2 separate regions of the Homo sapiens genome follow, and region 2 is linked to region 1. The links are contacts of gene promoters, found by promoter capture Hi-C in human tissues and cell types (Jung and others, 2019). All regions are on one chromosome and are shown on one strand. Each heading gives the region's core, a stretch centred on a gene start or on the middle of the fragment in contact. The rest is flanking DNA. Distances are from core to core; before and after follow the strand shown. Region 1 holds the start of LYPD1 (LY6/PLAUR domain containing 1). Region 2 overlaps NCKAP5 (NCK associated protein 5).

Region 1 (7,293 bases), core at 1,039-3,538:
ATTTGATGGAAATGTTCATTTTAGTGTAATTTCAGATTCGTTGCCAGAGATTCAGGTGATAGTAATAAGTGTCATTCTGCTTCTGCTGAAAAATGAAAAGGGTCCTGAAGTGTGGACACTGATTGGGAGTGTGACATTGTATCAGAAATGACCGAATTCTATTCCCAATACCAGTTTTTCCTTCCAGACATTTCTTTAGATTGTCTTTTACTTAGTGCTTCTCTATGATCCTGAATATTATTTGATTTTTATCTTCTTGCTCTTTTTATTAAAATCTGGGCACTCTAAAAATGAAAACAAATTTCTATTTGCAATGTTCACTTTTAAAAATAAAATTAATGGTGCTACGAAGAATTCTTTTTAATATCCTTTTTTTTCTACAAAGACTGTTTATATGTAAGGATAAATTCTATTTTAAAGGTTATGTGTATTTTTTCTAGATGTGAACTATTTATAATTACTTATGTACAGGAGCTTGTAAACTAGGCCCAATAGAAATATTTTTAGGATCTATATGGCTACTTTAGCACATAATTGTTTCTTTAAAGAGTATTGTATGATCAGTGTTATTTGGTTAATTTGTGCAATTTGTTTTATTTTATCTTAAATGAAAATTATGTAAAATGTCCTTGTCTTTCAGACTTTAAAAAATCTTTTTGTTTCCTTTCTGAATAAAAGTTATATCACATTTGCACCCTCTGAAAACAGAAAATAACTTGCTCAAGGACCTTTTGGCCCAGTCAGTTACTTGAATCATGACTCACACGTGCTCTTACAATGGGTTCCCAGAAGGAATAAATAAATTGGCCCTTTTGCTCCAGAGATAGTAATTTAGCCAATTGTAAGATCAGAGTCTGCAGACAGGTGAGTAATGGTCAAAGCATTTCAGTCTCCCCGAGGGGTTAACCAAATAGAAATGAAAGAAGGGGGAGAGGGAGGGAGGGAGGGAGAGAAGGAGCCTGAGGCAGATATGGAACGATCTCTGCAGAGGAATTACAAAGAAAGTCATTTAAGCCCCTTTACAGACCAGCTCTGCTGGGAGGATGCAGAAATAAATGATCAGCGTCCCGGCGTGAGAGAGCTGCCCCCAGAAGTGGCCGGGGGAGAAAAGGGTGAAGAGGAGCTAAAGCTTAGGAGGCGATTTCCACGGAAATGGATGCTCCCTAAGGATGTGCGGAAAGGGGATGGGAATGTGCGGATTGGGGGCGGGGGCACCAACGCACTCCGGCGGGCAAGCGGTCTCCCGCACCACCTGCTGCAAGGCTCGGGAAGGAAGGCGAAGATAGCACCGGGGCATCCCCGGGAGTCCGCAAGGTGGGTCACTTGGACTTTGCGGAAAGAAGACGAATTTGAGGGGTGTGGGGAGCAGCCAGAGGCCGAGTCCGAGGCTGGGATGGCCTTTCAGGAGAGGACGTGGGAGTATGTGCTAATAATCGGTGGCTTTGGGGAAAGCAGAATGGAGCCGGCTGGCGTTTGGGAGACAAGGAATGGAGGAGAACAACCCTCTTCCTCACCCTGATTTGCTTTCTGGTAGGACCTCACGGCAGGTGTCCCCGGGACGGCGTTCTCCTAGGCTAGGCGACCAGGGCGGTGTCAATGCACCCTCCAGCGGTGCGCGCAGGCGGGAGAAGGGAGGGCGGCCCGGGCAAGTGAGACAGTTAAGGCAGTGTCCCCACCACACCCCCACCCAGATTGGCCACGCCGAGCTGGTTCTTGACAGAAGGCCTTCGCGGAGGAAGAGGGGGCACAGCTGCACAGGACACCCTACGGAGCCTGCGGGCGTGGAACTTTGCCAGGCGCACGGGAACGCGCGCCCTTCCTGTCAGCCTCCCGGGGCGCCAGGCTCCCGCGGCCCGCAGCGGGACAGCCTCAGTTGTGTGGGCTGGACCCAGTCGCTGGGGTACCGACCAGTCCTGGAAGGCGCAGAGGACGTGGAGTGGGGAGGCTGCCTTCCTATGTGCGAAGGGCCAGCCGGGCACGCAGTCCTCAGACCCTAGTCCGCACCCGGCAGGTCCCCACGGCACCTGCTGCGCCCTCCTCGCCGCTCCCCCAACCTCCCCATCTCAGAAAACTACCAGTTCTCTCCCGCCCCCCGGCGCCCCTTTCCCAGGAACGTGCGGAGGCGGGAGAAGAGGAAGACAGGAAGGGGGTGGGGATGTGAAGCGACCGTCCCAGCCTTCCCCGCCCGCCACCCCCACCCCAACTCGGCAGCCGTCACGTGATGCCTGGAGTGGGAGGTGGGGAGAAAAGGCGAGACTTTTGTGGGTGCTCCCGATCGCCAGTAGTTCCTTCAGTCTCAGCCGCCAACTCCGGAGGCGCGGTGCTCGGCCCGGGAGCGCGAGCGGGAGGAGCAGAGACCCGCAGCCGGGAGCCCGAGCGCGGGCGATGCAGGCTCCGCGAGCGGCACCTGCGGCTCCTCTAAGCTACGACCGTCGTCTCCGCGGCAGCAGCGCGGGCCCCAGCAGCCTCGGCAGCCACAGCCGCTGCAGCCGGGGCAGCCTCCGCTGCTGTCGCCTCCTCTGATGCGCTTGCCCTCTCCCGGCCCCGGGACTCCGGGAGAATGTGGGTCCTAGGCATCGCGGCAACTTTTTGCGGATTGTTCTTGCTTCCAGGTGAGAATACCCAGAGGCCAGCAGCCGAGGCCAGGTGCGCACAATCCATCTACCCGCCAGCCCTTTTGCCCCCAAGGCGCCCACCTCGGGGCCAGCCCTGCGCTGGGGCTGCCCAGCGGGAGTTGGCGGCCGCGACTGGTGCCCCGGGGCGCGAGGCTGGGAAAGTGTCCAAGTCCCGCGCTGCAGGAGGAGAGCGGGGAGCGGCGGGTTTGCGGGACTCCGGGCTGCAGCTTGTCCGGCTGCACCGTCGGGAGAAGCTGGGCTTGAGAGGAGGGAGGGTCCGAGCGGTGCTGGGTTCTGGGCGAGGGAGAGGGGGCGACATCTCCCGAACCCTGCCAAGTTGTCTGGCGCCTCCGGCACCCCGTGGGAGTGGCGCCGCCGACAGGTGAGCGATGCGCGAGGCAGCCTGCGGCCACGCTGAAGCTGGGTTGCTGCGCTCAGAGTGCGATAGATGTGGGGCTGCGGGAGCGTGGGTAGTTGGGTCTAGACAGGAGCGCGTACACCGAGAACAGCCAGGCCGAAGCGTCCAGAGGCGCAAAGGTCTCGCGTCCTCTCTCCAGTTCGCCTACTGGCTCCCGACTAAGCTCTGCAGAGCTGGAACCCCGACCACTGACCCTAGTCGAACGGTTGTCCTGAAAGCCGGGGCCTGGAAGAAAGGGCTGCGGGGTCGGGGATCCAGGGTGCGCGCGCTCACAAACGCCCTTTCCCACCCTCTGTGGCCATTCGGGTCGCCGCGGGGACGGCCCCGGAGAAGGGCCGCCGACCCGGGCTCGGGGACTTGCGGCGCAGCAGCGCTTGGCGTCTGGCACCTCCACCCAAGTTGTTCCCAGGTGGTCGCTCAGGGATCCTCAGAGCCCTGGCACAGAAACGCTGACTTTAAAAATTAAATAAATAAAAACTAAAAAGACGTCTGCGAATGTAATCACGAATGGTGCCAAAATAGTAATTAAGTAATTTGTAACCAATTAGCAATTAGGCAAATCCTTTGGCTTAGGCTGGAGCTAACGCACATCTCCAGAGCTACTTCACTCTTGCGGTGGTACCGTCCCCACCCTCCCTTCAACTTCTTGGGAAAAGGCCTGGGGTGGTAATGGATGGGCGCTTTGTGTCTAGAGCCGGGGTCCAGGGGTGGCGGGCACTATTCCACTTTCTTCCGTAGGACCCTAGGTACCCGCGCCGCCCCCTGCCGGTGTCAGCCACATCCAGCCCTACCCGGAGACCCAGGAGTGGTCTAAGCCTGCCAGAGGCTGGGAGCCGCCTGGCTCTGAGGCGTGGGATGGTCGTGATTTCCGGGGTGGGCTCTGTGGGGGCCGGATCTGAACCCGACTGCGTCTGTCTCGCAGGCTTTGCGCTGCAAATCCAGTGCTACCAGTGTGAAGAATTCCAGCTGAACAACGACTGCTCCTCCCCCGAGTTCATTGTGAATTGCACGGTGAACGTTCAAGACATGTGTCAGAAAGAAGTGATGGAGCAAAGTGCCGGTAAGAGCCTGGCAGCCCTCCCCCTCGCTCTTAAGCCTGGGCTGTGGGGTGGGAGTGAGGGGGCCATTAAATAGCAGGAAAAAGGACTGACTTTGATTTAATGCCCACACACTGGTTATCGCAGATTTAGTTTTACAGTGCTGGGAAAATGAAGAGTTCCAAGTTACTTTAATCTCATTAGAGTTAATTACCAAGGCTTCTCCCCAAGGGTCTTGGGAGGGGAAGTGCATGTAAATTAGTGGCTCTCCTCTTTTTATTTACTCCCTTCACCTCCCTATGCTAAAAGCTGATGGAGGTAGAAAATATATGGCTAACCAGCCCTGGCTTGGGCAACTAGACAGTAGCCTGTGAGCATTGTCAGCCTGAAATATGGAGCTAGTTGAAGCTCCCAGAGGTCAGAGCTTGAAAAATGTGTTTTGTCATAGAGGCACACCATATTTCCTTGAAGAACACTACAGGATCTTTGTTTAATTTTAGAACTAATGCATCAACTTCCAGGCACAAATTGCCAAGATCTTTCAAAGGAATGCCGTTCTCAGCCCTACCAGCTTAGCTGCTGGCTAGCTGAGAAGAAGTCCTGAGCATCCTGTGGGGGAAGGGGAGGTCTTGTGGGATAGCCCTCACTCCCTCTAGTTGACCAAGAATCTTCTCACTGAGGTAGAACTTTCCAACCCTCTCCTCACCCCCTACCCCAGCTGTCTTATCAGAAGTCAAAGTTCCCCAAAGTATATCTGGAACTTTGGGAGAATAGGTAGAGCTGTTACTTCAGTTTCAAGGTCAAAACCATAAACACAGACCTTGCCATTTTAAGGATATTAAAAGGATGGGAAATAGCATAACTTGATGGCTGATAGTGAATGAACCAAAGCCCCCACTTCCTTTAGTTCTGTGAACTGCCTGCAGAGCCCGGTGAAGTGATTAGAACTGTTATATGATTCCCTTTACCCGCTGGCAAATCAATGCAAGGACTCTAGTTTCAAAGCCAACACCTTGGGAAAGTCGTTTCTTCTCAGAGAAGGGCCTGGAAATGTCATATTGCTATCCTCATGGTTATTTGGAAAGCAGATGTTAGCTTGACACTGTGTTGTGTTGTGGTGTGTGTGCAGTTGTAAGGGCTGGTTTGTATAGGTCATTATTTGTTGCACCAAAATCACTCTTCTGGGAAGCCTCAGACATACTGGCTCTCAAGGGTAACTTGTCTCGAGAAATGCGGTAAACATTATTTTGGCACGTGGGATTTGGGCTATTAATGATGCAAAACAAAACAAACTTGGCGATAATTCTTAAGATTGATAGGGATAATTTGAACAAATGGGATTTTTTTCTACTTGTGTTTCTTTCCTACGTTTTACCTGAGCAAAGAATTTACTGCCTTTCTACCAGAGGGACTGCTGTGATTTTAGTCAGAATTACTGTTAACACTTTATTGTTACTTTCAAATATTTGCAGCTTTCTTGAGACAGTAGTTTAGAGCCAGACAAAATGAGAATGTGCCGTGGACACGTTAAGAACTTCTTCAGAGTCCACAAGGCCACTGCTTACCTGGGTGTCATATTTTATCACCTGGGATATGGTTGAGAAGGGGATGTAAGCTAAATTTGAGTCAGAAGAGGTCCTTTTTCTGAGACACATTTCTTCTTCTCTAAAAGTGTATCTAAGATGAATACCACACACTCCATTTTCAAAGTGCTGTTTTTCATCTTGCTTCATTCTGTCCTCAAAACCACTCTGTAAAAGAAGCAGAGCAGGCATTTTAACTTCCATTTTATCCACAGAAACTTCAGCACAGACTTCAAGTGTCTGGCCTAAGGTTGCTCGCTTTCTATAAGCTCAGACAAGGTAGGTACCTTGTCTCCAAACCAGGCCCCTCTGGCCACAGGTCACAGCCCAACAGGTAGAGACAGAATCAAGTAATAAGGCAGTTTCAATTGTGAAGTTTGACAAACAGAAGCAGTCGATGAACTCAAAGGAAAAAGTTTTGAAGGGAAGGATGCTAGGTCGGGGTGTGTGCACATGGAAGCAAGGCATTCTAAGCCTAAACTCCACAGAAACAAGCCAAACGGATCTGTTTCTGCATCAAAAGAGCAATGTCCAGGGGGGCCTTATACCTCCAAAGCACTTCCATTTTTATGTCCATGTACTTATTAGGGACCAATTTAATTTTTTGCCAATAAGGATAGAGAGCAAACCTAAAACTTTAAGTGAACACAGTTGTAGTATAATCATCATATTAACAAGAGCTAACTGTTGTTGAGCGCCCAAGGCATCTGACTCTTTTCTGTGGGTTGCACATATAGAATCTCGTGAAATCTGGTGGTCCTCTTTCAGGATCTTGTTTCCTCATGCCACAGCCAGTCAGCATGTAATTCTATTACATGGTCAACATCTCCTCTCCAGAGAAAGTAATGCCTGTTAAATGATGCTATTAAGAATTGAAGTCAGAATTTCTTTCAAGTTTGATCAATAACATATGTTGTCCTGAGAATCTCAGCATACTAGAGCTGAAAGAGCCCAGTGACTCCTAGTTAAAGATGCATGTTGGAATCTTGCTGGGAGTTTTGTTCAACTCCACATGCCTGGGTCTCTGCTTAAAGAAGCCCATTTCATAGTCTGTGGTATATCTGGCCATGGGTCTTTTATAAACTTCCCAATGATTCTGGGGTGACCCGAGTTGAGAACTGATCTGGACAAAACTTTTTGTGTTACAGAGGAAGAAAGCAAGGTCCAGGAAAATTAGATGCTTGGTCCAAGTTCACCAGCCAACTGTTACTAAGAGGCGCTTGAAGCCTGCTTCTCAGGCCAACACCTTTGCTGTAATACCACACAGCCAGCATGTCGTAAAATATCCTGCCAGGTCTGCCTGAAAAGATAGTCCAGGCAAAGTTCAAAGAGTTTAGGCCATTTTTCATATCCACCAAGTTCACCTAACAGTCCAGGTAGACAGGCCATGAAGTGGATGTCAAAAGAATCTGGGAAGCAACCAGTGAGATTTTTAAGTTTGAGTGCTATGTGGACTTGCATTTTTTCATAGATGTGGAAAAACCAGGGCTTTAAATCGACTAAGAAAATTTAATGAACTAAGCCAGTCTGACATTAAGCAGTAATGAAAGGTGTTCTCTTTCCAAAAAATACCAGCCATGCAATATGCATAGGCCTTCAGTTTTCTGGACTAAGTCTGTAAACTCAGCTCTTAAAAATTT
Region 2 (6,802 bases), core at 3,882-6,381, 43 kb before region 1:
GATCTTCAAGTAGAACTGGGTAGTAGATGGGTAGCACATTCTAGTGCTAGAGGATAGAAGATTGGGAAAGAGTGAAAGCAAGAGAGAGACTTGACTTCTACACTAGTTTATTTGGTTTGTTCAGCTTCTACTGTGTCCAGGTCACTGCTAGACACTAAGGAGTAGGGAAGGTTCAATGGCACAGCCCTGCCCTAGGTGCTTATAATCAGACATACAGACTGAAACAAGTCTGAGAGAGAAGGTAATCCAGTACCCAAAACCATTGTTTTCTAGTGCCTAGTGCCGTATTGTTGGCCACTCAGAGTAAGGAACCAGAATTCCTAGTTCTTTTTGGTTTTTATAAAATTATGTACATCTCCAAATAAAATCCCAGTAGGGTCTATAGATCACCACAACAAAGGGCTCAGTTTCCAGCATGCCCTCTCCAGCCTCATACCCTCAAAATGCAATGGTCAGGTAAAATATGCAAAGCTTTGGCACTGGCGTCCCCCAGCCGCTTGATGATACTCAGCTGATCAAGCCCCAATTTCCCAAACAAGAAGTGCATTTTCTTCACTTGAAGGTGATTACATTCAACAAATTACAAAGAGCCAGGGAAGTTGAGTTAAAAACAATTGGTTTTGCAGTAATTAGAAAAACACAAGGAAATGATGACTATGGAACAATATTAAAAGGGACGCTGAGGGATAACAGCTCTAGTTCCTGGTTAATTCCTCAGCTTGGATATTTAGAGATTCATAACTAATTATGCAGAGATGATGAATTTTAAAAACGCTGCCATCCTGCCTTCTCAAGGCCAAGGACTTTGGCTATTAATAGAGCAATCAGATCTTGCTATATTATAGAAAATTCACACAAAGTTGCATCTATTTTAAAGCATTCATCTGGCACATTACTTAAAGATGACAAATCTCTGTAATATGCAAAATCAGCATTGGGTTCAACGAAATCCAAACTCGTTATAATCACTCCAAGTTGCCCCAGAGAAATCTATTGTTTAAAGTGGACACTACAGGTAAGAGTTATCTTTAGTCCTTCCTGGAACTTCTCTCTTTTTAGATCATTTTAAAGGTTTGCTTTATTTTTAACAGGCCCATCCCAGCTCGAAGTGGATGGACATGCGCAGTGGGACACAAGGGATTTGTCTCCCAGCATTACACTTTCCTGGATGACAAATGAAAAGTACTGACCATGACAAGCAGGCTGCTCTGAGACCCTTGCCAGAACCAGGGGTCTCAAATTTCTCTTAGTCACTATTCATCCAACATCAGAAAATCCACAGCCCTTTTAGCTATGCACATTGGGTGTGCACTATGCTGAGTTTTGGGGGTTTTAGTGAGGAGAAGTGTCATAAACAATAACAAAACAAACAAAAAACCCAGCCAGCTTCTAAAAATCACATGGTCAAAAGCTAACTATCAGAAAGAACCCACTGTGCCCTCAGACAGGCTTGAAAAGGGAGGCTGTGATGTGACTTGCATTTAATTATTTAAGTTGCATATTGGGAGGCCCTTAAGAAAGCAAATGTCATGATGGACAGAATGAGTTTACCCTCCTGTCGAAAGAGCAGTGTGCCGTAGCAAGGCCGTTGCTCAATTAAATTGGACTGCAGGCTACAGCAGAGATGGAGACCAAGCCTGGGGACCCTAATGAGACATTTTGAGGGAAGAGATGCCCCCCAGAGTTTGTCACCCTTTGATGGACATTCCCTCCCATTACCACCGAACCCCCAGTGTTACCCCCCTCAAGTTCAAATGTGTTGCAGCCCAACACTTTTAAAAAGGAGCTTGCACAGTGGAATTTCAAAGCAAAAGACAAATCCTTGGTTGAAGTGGAATAGGTGAGGGGAGCAAAGGATACTTAATGCTGTGCAAATTAGCAGGCTTTGGCCGCCAGGGCTGAAAGAAAACTAGGCAACGGAACTAGGCAATGGTGCTAAATAAATAAACACCAAATCAGATGCTGCTTCACTTGTGAAAATTTGTGTGTCTCCTCCACTTCATGTTGGGGGAGCAGAATTAAATCTAACTTGCTAGGGGATGGGAGAAGAGTGGTTTCCAAGACAACTGACATTTCTGCAGCCCCATGAGCATGTTTGAGGATGGCTTTTTTGTAGAGGTTTACTCATAATCTGAGTAATACATCAGGCATTTAAAATGGATCGTCTCACCAGTGCAATTGTGCCTCTCCATCCCCCAGGTGACATTCAGCAAATGTCTGGAGACATTTTGAATTGTCACAGCTCAGAGAGGGAAGGGGATACTAATCTGCTGTGCAGAGTCAAGGGATGAGGCTAAACACCTTACAATGCACAGGACAGCCCCCAACCACAGGGAGATAATGGGTACAAAATGTCAGTAGTGACAAGAAGAAGCCAAGAAAAGATTAACCTTTGGGTATTAGAAATGTTCATTGGGAGGGAGAAGCTGTCAAATGTTTGTGCCAAAATATGACAGCAGGCAGACACCCCCGCCTGCCCAGCAGGTGCACCAGGCCCTGGTCCAGCTACCTAATTTGGTGGTTAATATCACTTCCTCCCAAGGGCTTTGAAAGGGAAGTCCATGCTCCTGTCTGGGACTTTCAGACTTGGCTGTTGATCCCTCCACGGTGTCTTTGTCAGACTGTGTTAGGGAGACACTGACTGTCTGAAGTGGTAACACAGAGCACAGATTATTCGAGGCTGCTACACATTAAGTCTCTTATTAGTATTTCGGCTCTGTCTCTCTTAGAGAACATGTGCCCTGAGGAGGCAGAAATCCTTTACAGACTTGAAAGTTACCCAAGGACAGTTAATCCTCACGTTGCTCTAGTGAAGTAGGTAAATTGCAATTAGATGAAAAAAATGGAGAAAAAAAATGTAGTCAACAGGTGTTTGGGTTTCCTTGGAGACCTTAGAGTTTTATATTTGGCTCGAAAGCACATAGAGACATTTAGAAAGAGCCCCTTGCCAGAACTCTTCCAACTGAATGGTTACACCAGACACGGAAGATTAACAATCATCTGCAGAATGAAAATACTGGGGTCAGTAGAAGGAACTTTCTTGAAGAAGTGGGGTAGGTGGGGAAAAGAAAGGGCTCGGTATTCAGGAAGAATCTTTGTAGAAGTAACTATTATCATGTGCAAGAGGAAAAAGCAAGGTGCAGTCTTTTCAGGTATCGGGGGAAGAAGAACAGATATATTCTAATTGCTTTTTCTCTGACTTTTAAGGATCAAGAGAGAGACCATTTCAAACCTTCTTGCATCCCAACTGCTCCTCCTTAACTAATCAGAAACCTAGAGATATACACTTACTATACAACCAAGGAGATGAGCTTGGGAAAAACCAGGACAAATGTCAAGTATTACTCAGCGAATTACACAGTGGGCTCCTCTGTGAACCTCCAAGAACCTAGAAACCCAAAGCCATGAGCCCTTTGGCTGGGTATGTTAGAAATGCCCATAACTGGGAGCTTACATACCTGGGTTTCAGCGCTGGCTGTGTCATTAACTGATTTTTTTTTTTTTTTTTTGAGATGGATTCTCACTCTGTCACCCAGACTGGAGTGCAGTGGCATGATCTCGGCTCACTGCAACCTCTGCCTCCCGGGTTCAAGCGATTCTCCTGCCTCAGCCTCCCAGCTGGGATTAGAGGCATGCGCCACCATGCCCGGCTAATTTTGTATTTTTAGTAGAGATGGGGTTTCTCCATGTTGGTCAGGCTGGTCTCAAACTCCCAACCTCAGGTGATCCGCCAGCCTCGGCTTCCCAAAGTGCTGGGATTACAGGCATGAGCCACTGTGCCTGGCCATTAAGTGACTTTTTGATCCTAGATAAATCATGTCAGCCTTTCTGAGCATTAGTCGCATCAACCACATAATGCCCACCTTGCCTCTTTCTCATGGGTGTTTCAGATATGACATTAGATGTGGCAAAGCTTCCAATCTGAAGAATTCTAATAAATCTGAGTATTATGTATTAAATGGACTGATACGCAGAACAATTTCTGGAATTGAAGGTTGAGGATGTCAGAGGGAGAGAGGGGAACCCAGGGACCTTAAAAACTATTGACTAAAATAATGTGAAGCTAAAGCCCCAGAAAGGTAAACTTCCCTCATAAATTAGCCACGGATATACAATTTCATTAAGGGAAATATCATATTATCTTCAACTGTGGTTAAAATTCAGTCTAAGGGAGAAAGGACTGATTAAGCCTTCCCAAAACAAGCCTAGCAGCATTCTCCTTTTTTATTATTTACTTTCACAATAAGCAGCAATATCCCAAGCTATCACTCAGCATCATTGTTTTCAAATTCAATTACATGGAAACCAGAAATATGGTGAGGCTGGATCAGGTGGGGAGAAGTTTCAATTTTAATTAGAACAGGATTTTATTATAAATGAATAAATCAACACACTCTTTAAGGAATTTAATTAGAAAAGGAGATAGCATCCCTTCCATTGGCCAAGCTGGCTCTGGATCTTGTGCAGGCAGAGAGGTTAGTGGTTGGTTTCCAGCTTTCCCCAGTCAGCTTGCTTCTCTATTTATGAACCCCCCACAAGCATCATACAGAATGTTTCTTCTTCTACTCTCAACTTTTTCACCTTAAAATAAGAGCTCTTTTTTTTTTTGTTTGGCCCTTTCTGTCTTATGATGTAATATGTCACTTTGTCCCTTTTTATTCTGTAATGTTTCTTTCCCGGATATCTCCTGGTGTCTTCCTGAGTTTTATTAGGATTATTCAGAAGGCAAGGCCACAGGATCAATATATTTTAGGCAAAACCTGGAAGCTATGCCAACAGCATTCATTGCACCACAGTGTCCCATGAAATCTTTGAGATGTGTGGAAGGACCTAAATACCCATCTTGGAGAAGGCATGTGTCTTCTTGGACCATAACTTACTTGGTGATCTTCAGCACATGTCTTCCCTCCCTTCTTTGGGAAGAGATATCTTCCTCCAGATACTGCCAGGCTTGATGTTTTGTCACTCTGTGAACAAATGCTGTAGTGACTAGGAAGTGAGTCTTCATGCTTCAGTATTCAGCAGTCTCTGCTACGTGGAGAGCTTCTCAAAGTTTTTCTCAGATATCATTTTCAAAATTTGACTTTGTCGTTTTGAACATAGAATTCTCTCCTCCATCTCTGTGTCCCTAGCCCCATATAGGTAACCATTTTTATTGATTTTTTTTTTTGTTCATCTTTCCAGTCTTTCATTGAACAAAGCAAAAAATGCACATTTCTTACGCAAAAGGGAGCACACTGTGTACACTATCCTGCATCTTGTTTTGTTTTGCTTTCTCCCACTTAATATATCCTGGAGATCATTCCATGTCAGTGCACTGTCTCCCTTGTTCTTTGTTCCAGCTACATTGTGTGGCTGTACCATCATTCACTTAACTTGTCTTCTGTGGATATCTATGGAATCAATTCCCAGCAGTTGTACTGTTGATCTGGATCTGGGTGTGTGCCCCTCCTCTGTGATCCCATAACACCTTGGTTTCACCCTGACCATCAAATTGCTCTTGTTCTCTGCTGCTTATCCCTTAACACCAGAGATCATGGTGTTTCATACTGAATCCTTGGCACATGGTAAGTGCTTACTGAATCCCTACTGAAATGCTGGGTGAATGAATGGACTGTGACTGCTGAGATTGAATCCCAACATAGTTCTTTTTTTTTCCTTTCTTTTTTTGAGACAGAATCTCACTCTGTTGCCCAGGCTGGAGTGCAGTGGCACAATCTCTGCTCACTGCAAGCTCCGCCTTCCGGGTTCACGCCATTCTCCTGCCTCAGCCTCCTGAGTAGCTGGGACTACAGGTGCCCGCCTCTACACCCGGCTAATTTTTTTGTATTTTTAGTAAAGACGGGGTTTCACTGTGTTAGCCAGGATGGTCCCAATCTCCTGACCTCATGATCCGCCCCCCTTGGCCTCCCAAAGTGCTGGGATTACAGGAGTGAGCCACCCCGCCAGGCCTGAATCCCAACATAGTTCTAAGCAAAAGGTATGAGGTAGCCAAAGTATCTTCCTGAAGGGGGCTTGAGGTGAGTCTTGAAGAATCAGGTTTGGGTGGGCATAAAGGGGAAGAGGATTTCTCTGAGGGGCAAGTGAGCAAATCAGGGAATGAAGAGAGGGTGAGAAGAGAGTGGTGACATCCTCTGACTGCCAGTGTTTCCCTACAGCTGGTTAGCAGAACAGAGGTCATACAGTTCTGTGAGGGTAATTGATAATACAAATGTGGTACCAACTGGCAGTGGGTGTGATCTGTGTGTGCCAGTGAATTTGAGAGGTGAGTAGAGGAGCAGCCCAGAGCACAGGTGATGAACAAGCCTAGATTTGTAAACCTGAGTCTGTCCTGCAGCCTTCGCTATACAACCACAACACCAAAATACTTGCCTCTTTATTTCTGCTTATTCTCCCCATTTCTAATAAGCTAGAGCCTTTATGTTGGAAAAGAGCTTAGAATTTATCCTGTCTACCATCCCCCTAGTGGAATGTAAGCTCAATGGAGAAGGAAGGAAGGGAGGCAGGGAGGGAGGAAGGGAAGGAGGAGTGCCCCTTATCCTATCCTTATTTGGCCTAATTGAGTTTTTCTATACCATTCTCTGTGGTGAGGGAGGGAAAAGGAGGGTCTGTCTGGGTTGCACAGTATTACACAGCTGGGGAAAATAGGATATTTATGGATTATGGATAAAGACTATACTCATACTCAGAAGAATAACATGAAATTCAGAATTCCTTTGATACGTAACTCAGTATTTGATGAGAAGGTGAATGAATGAATGAGGCAACCAGATATACTAGAAAATGTTCAAAAAGGTTTTGG

What was found. The method cuts DNA at HindIII sites, captures the fragments that hold promoters and counts their contacts. A contact is called where the count stands out against the background at its distance.
Region 2: a contact is called between a fragment that was not itself captured here and the fragment with the promoter of LYPD1 in region 1, in 1 of the 25 tissues and cell types used here (stomach).

The regions. Positions count from the first base shown.
Region 1 is chr2:132,665,200-132,672,492 of GRCh38, reverse strand. LYPD1 (LY6/PLAUR domain containing 1) reads left to right here and starts at 2,288. Exons shown (of 3, transcript NM_144586.7): 1 at 2,288-2,612; 2 at 3,956-4,093. The coding sequence starts at 2,561. It overlaps NCKAP5 (NCK associated protein 5), which reads left to right. Exons shown (of 20, transcript NM_207363.3): 20 at 1-705. RefSeq lists an enhancer at 2,462-3,425. The HindIII fragment of the contact is 6,763 bases long and covers 1-5,046 here.
Region 2 is chr2:132,711,520-132,718,321 of GRCh38, reverse strand. All of the region lies in intron 19 of NCKAP5 (NCK associated protein 5), which reads left to right. Among named protein-coding and RNA genes, the nearest start is that of LYPD1, 45 kb to the right of the region's middle. The HindIII fragment of the contact is 5,877 bases long and covers 2,193-6,802 here.